Linked DNA regions of Homo sapiens: all the other regions are linked to region 4. The links are contacts of gene promoters, found by promoter capture Hi-C in blood cells and fetal thymus (Javierre and others, 2016). All regions are on one chromosome and are shown on one strand. The core of a region is centred on a gene start or on the middle of the fragment in contact, and the rest is flanking DNA. Distances in the headings are between cores, read along the strand shown. Region 1 overlaps MSI2 (musashi RNA binding protein 2). Region 2 overlaps MSI2 (musashi RNA binding protein 2). Region 3 overlaps MSI2 (musashi RNA binding protein 2). Region 4 holds the start of CCDC182 (coiled-coil domain containing 182).

Region 1 (2,700 bases), core at 124-2,623, 390 kb after region 4:
CAAGGTATTCTCCTTTCTGGTTGGGTTCCTTTGAGTTGGGTTATTTGAAACCAGAAGGATCCTGACTTATGACACAGAAGACAATCTTAAAAATATGCTGGTCACAGACTCCACATTTTTCAGACTATCTTTATTTTCAACACTCAGTTTTGTGGCCCCATAAAACCACTTCCACTCTTGCCTTCTAGAGTCTACTCTGCCCAGCAGCTAGAGAGATCTTCTCCAACAGTTAATCATACTGCATCATTCTCTGGCTGCTCGAATCCTTCCAACAACATCCCATCGCATGCTCCTTTGTATTAATACAAGCTCCCAGGCTCCTTGTATCTGGCCCCTGCCTCTCTCCTCAAACTCCTCTCCCACCCCCTTCCTCATCACACCCTCTCTGCTCTCACCTGCACTTCCTGGAGGTTCACACTTATCAAGCTTTCTCCTATCTCAAGATGTTGCCTCTGCTGCTGCCTCACCTAAAGTTCTGGCGACCATTCCCTCCCTTAGTTCAGATCTCTATCCAAATATCACCTCCCAGAGAGACATCCTTTAAACACCCCTCCCCCACCTGGAATCAAATTTTATATTCACTTATCATCTCTCTTAGAATGTAAGCTCTCCCAGGGCATTGACCTTGACCATCCTGCTCACTTCTGTATTTCTATTGCCTGGCCTCTCTACCACTATTTATTAAATACACAAAATTCCAGTGTTGTGGCATTCAAACACCTTCCCAGCCATTCAAAGAGCAACATGGGGTCCTGGGCCATACCACGTCCTTACACTTTCCACACCAAAACTAACATCACCAGAGCTATGCTACTGACTAGGGGTTGGCAAACTATAGCATGCAGTCCACATCAGGTCTGCCATCTGTTTTTCTCTTACCTGAGAACTAAGAATGGTTTTTACTGACAAACATCTATAACTGACTTGATAATAGAAAACAGTAACTTTGTACTCCAATTCAGCAAAATGTTATGCCCCCTGAAACAAAATCCATTCTTCTCATTAGCAAATGTGTATTTTAAAAAACTGTACTCAATAATTGTCATTATATTTTGAATTTCATCAGTAAAAATTCTCCGTAAATGTTTTCTCTCTTGTTATGTTAAATACCTACACAAAATCCTCAATATTGCATCCTGATCCCTGAAAGCCTAAAATATTTACTATCTGGACCCTTTACACACATAAAAAAAAAGAGTTTGCTGATCCCCATGACAGACTTACTGCTCATGGATGGGGGAAAAGGAGACTTAATAGGTCAGTCCAACCCCTGCACCATCCAGGACCAAAATTAATGAGGAAACAAGAGAACCAGGTCTTCGAATACTCTTAATGTTCTGAGACCCAAGGAAAAAATTATAATCAGACTAAATCTTCAATCTACTGGTACTGGAAGCTCTTAAATTCAAGGACCCTCCAGAGGAAATAGATACTTTGACTCAGCAAATGCTCCTACAAGAGAAATGGCATCACTGGTACCACCTACATCTCCACCAACTACTCCCTAAATAACAAAGGAAATAAGAGTCTACGATTTCCCTTAGAATATCTTAGGTAAATGTCTTAGGAGCTCCTCCACTATCTGTTCCTAACTGAACCATGTATCAGTGCACCAAGTCCATCTTTAGCCTTGTGTCCTCCTGGGCACACAAGTCCTTAGTACAACCCCAAGAAAACCCAAGGAATCACATCGAATCAATCAAGCCTCCATCCAATGTGGAAGTCACAGCCATGCCTGCTTTACACCTACCCACAGTTGGTCCAAGGAAGACTTAAACAGGAGCAGTGGGTACAAGTGAAAACCCACTCCCATTTGGTCAGTACAACTCCGATAATGGTCTGGGGAAACACAGGAGGCCAGGCTATACTTGAGTTGCCAGAAAACTAAAGGAATGAAAAGTGTCCTTCTCTGGAGGAGAGCGCATTTTCGGGAGCTATCTGGGGAAAGATGGGCCAATGAACTGTTGATATTCAAATCATCATTAAATGACTCAACTTTCCAGAAATAAAAGGCGTCACAGTGGGAAATTCTCCATCTTGACTTTTTTAAAGCTGCAGAGCAGAGAACCGATTAATTTTTAAACATTTCTTTAAAATTACAAGAGTCACCCTCACCCAGTCCAGTCATTACTAATTTCCTACTCTCCACACCCTGATCCTTAACACCGCCCTGTGAAATTGCTCAGTGCCCAGCAGGGCTGAAGCAGCAGAGGAGGAGGCTAGGAGGAGCCCTTCTCCTTCTGGCCAAGGCAAACTGGTAGCCAGAGGGATTCCATCCAAGTTAAATCCACATGGACCAAGAAGAGACCAAGAAGCTTGAACATAAGAAACTGGCTCCTTCAAGACCACAAACCCTGTCTAGGTACAGCCTTTTAAGGTGACAATTATTCAGGGATTGGCTGATATTTATTCCTCTGACCCTACCCTTTATCTTTCTTCCAGGGTCCCTCAACACCTCCTCCTAAAATCACAGACCTTTGTGAGCATGGAAGAGCAAGAAGAAACACAGAGCTGCTCAGTGTGTGAGTCCGAACAAACCTGTTCCCATTTAGGAATCAGGGTTCCACCCTCCTTCACCTGGGAGCTCCTCTTCATCTGCTTCCCTTCTCTTTTCCGCCAAGGTCTTAGAGTCCTATTTCCTCCCCTACTTCCTTTATAAAATAAAAGGAACAAACATCGAGTCCTCTATTCAGACATCTA
Region 2 (2,700 bases), core at 186-2,685, 440 kb after region 4:
CGCAACCCTAGCCTCCAGGGACTCGTAGCTGACCTTAAGTCGATTTTATTCTGTGTGTCAGGCTCCTCATCTGTAAAATGGGACTAGATCCTCCAGGGTTGTTGTGAGAGCTCCATTTAACACACTTTATCTTCCTTCACCCTGCCTGAACTGCCCGATATCAAACGCACCGAACTGGCTGCCTAAAACCTCGTCAGCAGTAACACACAGTGATCAGCGTGTGTTTTGACTACATTGCCCAAGTCTCTGGCCCTGGCTGCTAGAGGTCTTGCTGGCGCAGAGCAGATTCTTTTTCCCAGAAGATTAATTTATTAACTCTTCTTGAAAGCTGTTTGTTTGCAAGAAGGCACAACTGGCTCCGGGTGAGTGTGTGTTACTAAGGAAAAAGGGCCCCAGAGAACAATGCTGCTCTTACCCTATCCTCAACATCGGAGGCTCCAGAGATGCCTGACTTTCCCCAAGACCCTAGCTGAACGGTTCACCCATGCCGGTCAGTGAGGTTCCTCCTGAGAAGGTGCCACCAGACAGATGCTCGGGCCCTTCTGCAACTCACACCGTGGGATTCTGTACCCCTAAATATCCTCATTCTGAATCCCAACTGAGGGGGCCTTTCCTAAAGGCTGGGGCCACCTATCACTCTTCCCAAGCATCTGGTCTACCTCCTAATAACACTCTCCTGCCTGTAATCACGTCTTCAGCATCTGTCCTTCCATTTAGACTATAAGCTCTCTGAGAGCGAAGACCTGGCTTGTCTTATTTTTACTGTATCCCCCCGTCCCACAAAACATCTGGCACTCAGTAGATGCTGGATACATATTTGCTACACTGCCAAGGATGGGCTGTGGGGAGTCTTCCTTAAGAAAACCCCTCTGTGGGAGACCTCTTGTAGTTCTAAGGGGATTTTTCTTAGGAGAGGGTCCAGAGGTTTCACCCTATGCTGAAAGAGGACCTACCCAAAAATAGCTTAAGACTACTGACAAATAGTGAATCTCAGGGAGGAATTCTGGGTAAACTCTTAATAGCTTCTCCTGGCTGGGTGCGATGGCTCACACCTGTAATCCCAGCAATTTGGGAGGCCGAGGCAGAAGGATCACCTGAGGTCAGGAGTTCGAGATCAGCCTGGCCCAACATAGTGAAACCCTGTCTCTATTCAAAATACAAAAATTAGCTGGGCGTGCTGGTAGGCGCCTATAGTCCCAGCTACTCGGGAGGCAGAGGCAGGAGAATCGCTTGAACCGGGGAGGTGGAGGCTGCAGTGAGCCGAGAGCACACGACTGCACTCCAGCCTGGGAGATAGAGTGAGACTCGGTCTCAAAAGGAAAAAAAAAAAAAAAATTACTCTTTATCCTGATAGTCAATGGGTTTCTTTTTTTCTTTTTTCTTTTTTTTTTTTTTTGGAGACAGAGTCTCACTCTGTCGCCCAGGCTGAAGTGCAGTGGTGCAATCTCGGCTCACCGCAACCTCCACCTCCTGGGTTCAAGCGATTCTCCTGCCTCAACCTCCCAAGTAACTGGGACTACAGGCGCACGCCACCACGCCCAGCTATTTTTTGTATTTTTAGTAGAGATAGCATTTCACCATGTTGGCCAGGATGGTCTCAATCTCCTGACCTCATGATCCACCCGCCTCGGCCTCCCAAAGTGCTGGGATTACAGGCGTGAGCCATGGCGCACAGCCATCAATGGGCTCTTAATATGGCTCCCAACTATTTTTCTGGGTGTTCCCCTTTGGATAAAGCTCTCCCTCCCTGCTCCTTCCCTCCAAGACTCCCTTCCCTCCTCCCTCTAGTAATTCAGGTCCTCCCATGCTTGAGGGACTCTCTCAAGGCCACCTCTTCTGAGAAATCCTCCTGAAAGACCCCAGGAAGAGCCTGTACTGTTTTCTACTTCCTTTGACAATTAACCACACGACACCTTGTGTGACGGCCCATTACGCTACTGAACTATCATTCACATCCTGGGTATTTACAGTCTAGCATCCCATAATAGTTTGTAAGTTTCTTGGAGGCAGGGACTAGTGTCTTCTTCCTCAAAGGGCCCATCATATTAGGAACTCAATAAATAAATGTGTTGACAGGTATTCCGAGTGATGTAGCAAAATAACAGACCGCTGAGGCCAGGATTATTTGAGTAAAGATTTTTTCCTGTACAATAATAATAATACAATAATTTTTAAAACACCCACTATCCCACCACACAAATGAAATCAACTATTATTTTTCCCTGTTCCTCCTGGACCTTGTCCATAAGCACAGGTAATATTTATATAGTTGTATTCACAACAGAAACACAATGTTAGCCTCTGATATTTTTCCCCCTTCACACTGCGTTTCTAAACATGCTTTCTCACTTGGGAATGAAAGCCTGTGTTTGGTCCTGCAATTCTTCTCATGGGGTTACTAGAACAACCAACCCAGCATATGTCGAGCTGTGCAATTCCATTCTTTCGTAACATAACTTTTTTTTCCCCTTCCATAGGCAGCTTCTCTCCCCCAAGTGTTAAAGCAGATTTTCCAGAACATCAAAGGTCTATTTTCACAGGAAAGCACTCAGCTGAACATGTAGTAAAACAGACCGCCCCCGCCAAAGCTACAGCCACAGCAGAACCCTCCCTGGCCAATGGGTCCCTCATTGAGATTTGGGGACTTCCCCGTGAACACCGGACAGGGAATCCTGTGCTCCAGCAGTCCTGCCCAACCCC
Region 3 (2,700 bases), core at 86-2,585, 460 kb after region 4:
GGCTTCCAAGACACACAGGACAGCCTCGCCAGGCTGGGTGTTCACTGAGGGAAGCAGTTTCACACTTCCTTTCCTTGGGCCTGCACTAATTTCCCACACTCACATTGCAAGGAGGCATTCTTGGGCTCACGGGGCCCTCAGAAAGGGTCCTATTATAAAGGTTCAGCAAATTAAAAAAAAAAAAAAACAACTTTTTGAGACCACTTATTTGTAGGGTACTATAGAGATGATAAATATGGAGCAAAAGGGGCTGCTTTTTTTCTTTCTTTTTAAATTTCCAATGAAGAAATGTGGCTTCAAAACTCTCTGCGGCGCGAGCCAGTTGCCTCCAGGCCAGCCTCTCCCTAGGCCTTGCTTTGTTTCTGGGCATCACACTCTGACCTGCAGGACCCGCACTTGGCAATCAGCTTAAACCTACCTCGGCATTTTAATGAGCCAGACTGCCATCTCCTCCCACACTGCCCGCTCTCTCCTGGAAGAACACACCTTTCCTAATTCTGTTTGTTCACCAGAAAAATAAATAAATAATAATAAGCGGGGGAGGGGGTGTGGGTTTACTGGAAGGTCATTTTGCCTTAGGAAAGGAACAAATTAAGTCGAGGCTCACAGTGAGCCGGGAAATACATTCTCCATCAGACAAGCGACCTTGGGGCCTTCGGTTTTAGGCGGGAAAGGTCACTGGTAAGGCAGCCCCTTGTTTATGGAGCCCGGATACCAATGACGTGGTCACCTCCGAGAAGCACAATTACCAACAGGGGCACGCCAAACTCTTTTATTGGTTACCTCTTAAACACTCCAGAAATCTGTCCAAGTCCTTGCAGAATAGCAGAAAACAAAAGTGCTCTCAGCAGGAGGGGGAAGCCAGGACTCGATGATGAGCAATTAGTGAATCAATGACTCTCAGAGACACTGATTTAGACCAGCAGTTCTTATTAGCGACCGTCGAGGAAAATGCAGGGACACACAAAGCTTCCAGGAGAGACTAAAGCTTTAAAAACATTTTTTTAAAAATCACCACAAACTGCCTTCAGAGCTTCCCCCTAAAACACTTAAAATGTGTGCTCAGTCTGAGGAAAAAAAAAAAAAGACTATTTGTTGTTTCCTTAATGTCAAAAAAACAAGTGAAACTACAACCACTAGTTCTGTCGCCCCACATGAAAATTATTCTCTCAAAATCCCAAAAATGAGATAAGGAATTAGGTATTAGACAAAAGAAAGAAAGAAAAAATAAAGAAGAAAGAAGGAAGGGAGGGAAAGACAGAAAGAGGCTGGCTAGCTAATATGAACAGCATGAACTTTTTCTTACCCTCATCAGATTGCAGGAATATAAAACAGATTGGTCTCCACTCCCACTCCATCCATGTTGAATAAAAAGATACTGATTCACGTGATAAGACGTATTCTTTAGTACTTTCTTAATATAACCCCTCATCATCTAAACACCTGTTCGGAAAATCAGAACTACACAACAGAAAGTGAGTGGTAGGAGGCTTGGCTAACTGACGGGCAAGGAGAAAAGAAAACATTTCTAAAAATATAATGATGCTTGCTAAGAAAATAGAGTTCCATGTACACAGAAATTCTCAGGAATACCTACTTGGGGAGACGTTCCTGTAACTGTTTTTAAACATTCAGTTCCATCCCACAGAATTCAAAACACCTACTAAGAACACAGAAGCTTCCCAGGCATGACTGTGGGGGCCGGAACCTTCCACAAACTTTATTTGAAGGCTGCTAATAACATGCAGCTGGGCATACTTTCCCCACACCCCAGCCTCTCCTGAAAAGTGCGCCCTCCCACCACCACCTTCCTTTCTTTCTGATTTTGTGAATACCAGCGAACGCTGAGACAATGCGGTTCACCGTGAAAATGGAAAACCGCAAGTTGGCCTCCTCAGCAGCAGCCAGCCCCCAGCCAAGGGCCCTCTGCAAACTTCCCCTTTATTTGTTCCTTGGTTTGGTTTCTGCTGGGTTGCTAATCTATTTGCTCTAAGCTATTGGAAGAAGTCGGCAAAAGAAAACAAAAAGGCTTTCTTCCTAGCAGGGGAAAAATGGGTAACCTTGAACCCAAAGAACCCTCCCTCCCCTGAAACTCCGGCTACTCTGAAAGTTTGTTGCTATCTAACCTTGAAAACAGTATGTGCCTCAGGGTCCCCTCCGCACTGGGCTCTAACAAGGATGTTGACGGTTCCTTATCTAAGGGGAAGGATGCAAACAATTTTTTTTAAGGTGAAAAGAAGAAACTTCTAAGAAACCGACGCCAATCTATGCACAGAAAAACCTCCCCTATCCTCCTACAAGTCTTCCAGAAAGGGGAGGGGTTGAAGAAAGAGAAAATCCAAAAACTGATCACTGCTAAGCTCCATAGTTTCAATAAATTGTTACCAATGTTGTCTTCGAAGGCAAAAAAAAAAAAAAGGTCATTTTAATTCTGGTTGAGGAGGGCATAGGGTAAACCCCTGGCCAACTTGAGCTTCTCCCATCCCCAGCAGATGAGGCTGAGGTTGATCCAGAGGTGACCTGTGCCAACAAGCCCTCCCCCAATGGGGGCAGATGACGCCATGAAGCCCCATGCTTCTCATCTCCATGGTGACCCCAAAAAACAAAATCAACTCTACACTAGGAGACACAAGAGTCCCATCAACTTAGAAACTTTCTTCTTCTCAGTAATAGTCTCCTACAACATTTTAATGAAATACT
Region 4 (2,700 bases), core at 167-2,666:
AGTTTCTTAGTCTATTGTGTGCTGCTATAGTAAAATACCCGATGCTGGGTAATTTATAAAGAACAGAAATGTATTTCCTTACAGTTCTGGAGGCTAGGAAGTCCAAAATCAAAATGCTGGCATCTGGCAAGGGCCTTCTTGCTGTGTCATTCCACAGCAGAAGACATCACATAGTAGAAGGGCAAAGAGAGGGTGAGAGAGAGACATAAAGGGGCTGAACTTATCCACTTATAAGGAACCTGCTCCCAAGATAACAGTGTTAATCCATTTATCTCTTAAAGGGTAGCCTAATCATCTGTTAAAGGTCCTTCCTCATAATCCTGTTACAATGGTAATTAAATTGCAACATGAGTTTGGGAGGGGACAAATATTAGCATCACAGCACCAGTTGTCTCATGAGGGCTCTGGTGTGTGTGCTGTTCTGGGTTGCTCTCATTAATCTGACAGCAACACTGGAACAGGAACTGGTTTGGGTAAAGAGATCACCAATTCAGCTTTGGATGGCTTGAATTGGAGGCCCATTGTGGGGGAGACGTTTAGATTTGGAGACCAGGAGAGAAGTCTAGGCAAGAGACTGAGATGTGCAAGATGAAGGTTTGTTCCTGACTAAACCAAATGTAGATTAGCTAGAAGTATTTTCCTTTGTTCTAATTATCAGGTAAAAAGTACAAGATTTACCTTTCTATGTGTTGTTTCTCATATTTGTTAACATTCAGGTATGTTGGAAGACCATGCACTCACTTGTTCCCTGATCCTAGTGTGTAGTGAGCACTTAGTATTTATTGAATAAATATGACTAACCCATTTTTACCTTGCACCTGCTGAATCAGCCATTGCTGTGGACCATACATCAAAATCTAAGTACATTTTTCGCAATTTCTAAGATTTTATAGAATTCTGACATCATTATAGGAGTATGGACTTGGAATAAGAGATTACTTTTTAGCATTTTAGAGCTACAAGTGGGATTAGGTATCATCTCTTACAATGTCTTTGTTTTACTAGTGAGGTACTAAAGCCCAGAGACCAGTCCAAGACCATGCAGGTCCCTTGCCAGTGTGGGAGACCACCCAGTCCTGGCAGCCAGTGAGCCTGGCCTGGCCTGCCTTGCTCTGGCCAGTTTACTTCCCTGCTCTGGGACTTGGTTTGTTCCTTAGGTTAAAGAAGAACTTGAGTTCTGGTTCTAGAAGGGTGATGAGTTAAGGATCCACATCTCAGGAGGGCGACTTGGTCAGATAAACAGACAAAGCTCTAGGTAACCAACCAAGGAAGCTACAATATGCAAATGAATGGATTGTGGCTTTCTTTCTGGTTGGCTGAAGGGGCCCTGATGTCACAATTCTAGGGTTTCTCCACTCCGAATGATCGTGTCTCTAGCCAAAAATATTTATTGACCTGGTTGGTCTCTTGGCTTCCTCTCTTTGTCCAACGTAGAAGAGACAATGGAACCCCTCTACCAGGCTGGGTCCATTCTCATGACGGTGAATACCCTACAGGGGAAAAAAATGATAGAGAGTGGCCTCCAGTCTGGAGACTTTTCCCTGTCCCAGTCATGGCCCTCCTGCCTCCCACCACCCGCTGACTTGGAGATCCTGCAGCAGAAGGTGGCCGGGGTGCAACGGGAACTGGAGGACTTTAAGAAAGAGGCATTGAAGTCCATTCATTACCTTGAAGACGCCTTCTGCGAGATGAATGGAGCCCTGGTGCAACAGGAGGAGCAGGCGGCTCGCGTGAGGCAGCGGCTAAGGGAGGAGGAGGACCGTGGCATCGTGCGCAACAAGGTTCTCACCTTCCTGTTGCCGCGCGAGAAACAGCTCCGGGAGCACTGCAAGCGGCTGGAGGACCTGCTGCTGGACAGGGGACGTGACGCCCTGCGTGCCACCAAGAAGAGCCAGGCTGACTGAACCTCGTGGGTGGCACTAGCCAAGCACCAAGTTGAAGATTTTTTTTAACGGAAGGAGAAACCCCAAGTCCCTACCCCCTTGCTTTCCCTTCCTCATTTCCATTGCTTTCCTTCTGCCTAAATAACACCTTGCTGAGAGGCAAAAAGACTTCAATATTTTTTTTGGTGAAATTCCATTTATCCAGCATTCTAAAGGAAGGAGGCACCCCAGTACTGAGTCAGGCCCCTGTAACTTTCACTTGAACTGTTTTCCTGTTTGTAATGGTACTATTGCTCAATGTATACCTCTTTATTTGTATAGTATATTCTTAAACTGATTGTGTTGAACATTCACCTTTTTTTTTTTGAATGATTTGAGGCTTTCATGATTTGAGACTTAACACCTGGTCAACTGATACCACATCACGTAACACATGATCTCCCCAGAGGGGTCGGACTGCTTGCCCGTGCACTAACACTACCCCAGATTGCTCTGTTTTTAGTATTCTAACCCTTGTCTGTATGGTCTTTCTGTCTGCCTCTACTCTTAGACTGTCACATCTCACTTTTCTTTGCTGCCTCTTTCTACCTCTACTTCCTTTCCATTTAGACTGCAGACTGGCCAATCGGAATGACAGAGCTTATTGGGACTGTGTGGGTGGAACTCGCTGAGCTTTAGCAACCGATAATGCAACACCTCTGAGATGGCACTAGGAAGTGGGGAAACTGATTTCTGTGTTCGATCCATGGAGCAGGAATTATTGTCACAGTGCCTGGCCATTTATCAGGCAACACACACATACCATCCCACTTACTTC

The links. Contacts are between HindIII fragments. The CHiCAGO score rates a contact against its expected background, and 5 or more counts as called.
Region 1: a fragment that was not itself captured here is called in contact with the fragment with the promoter of CCDC182 in region 4 in 1 of 17 cell types (naive CD8 T cells); the score reaches 6.4 in naive CD8 T cells.
Region 2: a contact is called between a fragment that was not itself captured here and the fragment with the promoter of CCDC182 in region 4, in 5 of 17 cell types (total B cells, naive CD8 T cells, total CD4 T cells and 2 more). The highest score is 8.5, in total B cells.
Region 3: a fragment that was not itself captured here is called in contact with the fragment with the promoter of CCDC182 in region 4 in 6 of 17 cell types (total B cells, naive B cells, total CD8 T cells and 3 more); the score reaches 11.1 in total B cells.

The regions. Positions count from the first base shown.
Region 1 is chr17:57,352,364-57,355,063 of GRCh38, reverse strand. The region is part of intron 5 of MSI2 (musashi RNA binding protein 2); the gene reads right to left. Among named protein-coding and RNA genes, the nearest start is that of MSI2, 97 kb to the right of the region's middle. RefSeq lists an enhancer at 63-112. The HindIII fragment of the contact is 1,889 bases long and covers 429-2,317 here.
Region 2 is chr17:57,303,054-57,305,753 of GRCh38, reverse strand. The region is part of intron 5 of MSI2 (musashi RNA binding protein 2); the gene reads right to left. Among named protein-coding and RNA genes, the nearest start is that of MSI2, 48 kb to the right of the region's middle. The HindIII fragment of the contact is 8,097 bases long and covers 1-2,700 here.
Region 3 is chr17:57,284,619-57,287,318 of GRCh38, reverse strand. The region is part of intron 5 of MSI2 (musashi RNA binding protein 2); the gene reads right to left. Among named protein-coding and RNA genes, the nearest start is that of MSI2, 29 kb to the right of the region's middle. RefSeq lists an enhancer at 2,212-2,481. The HindIII fragment of the contact is 690 bases long and covers 991-1,680 here.
Region 4 is chr17:57,744,015-57,746,714 of GRCh38, reverse strand. It overlaps CCDC182 (coiled-coil domain containing 182), which reads left to right and starts at 1,416. Exons shown (of 1, transcript NM_001282544.2): 1 at 1,416-2,220. The coding sequence starts at 1,443. The coding sequence ends at 1,904. The HindIII fragment of the contact is 19,296 bases long and covers 1-2,700 here.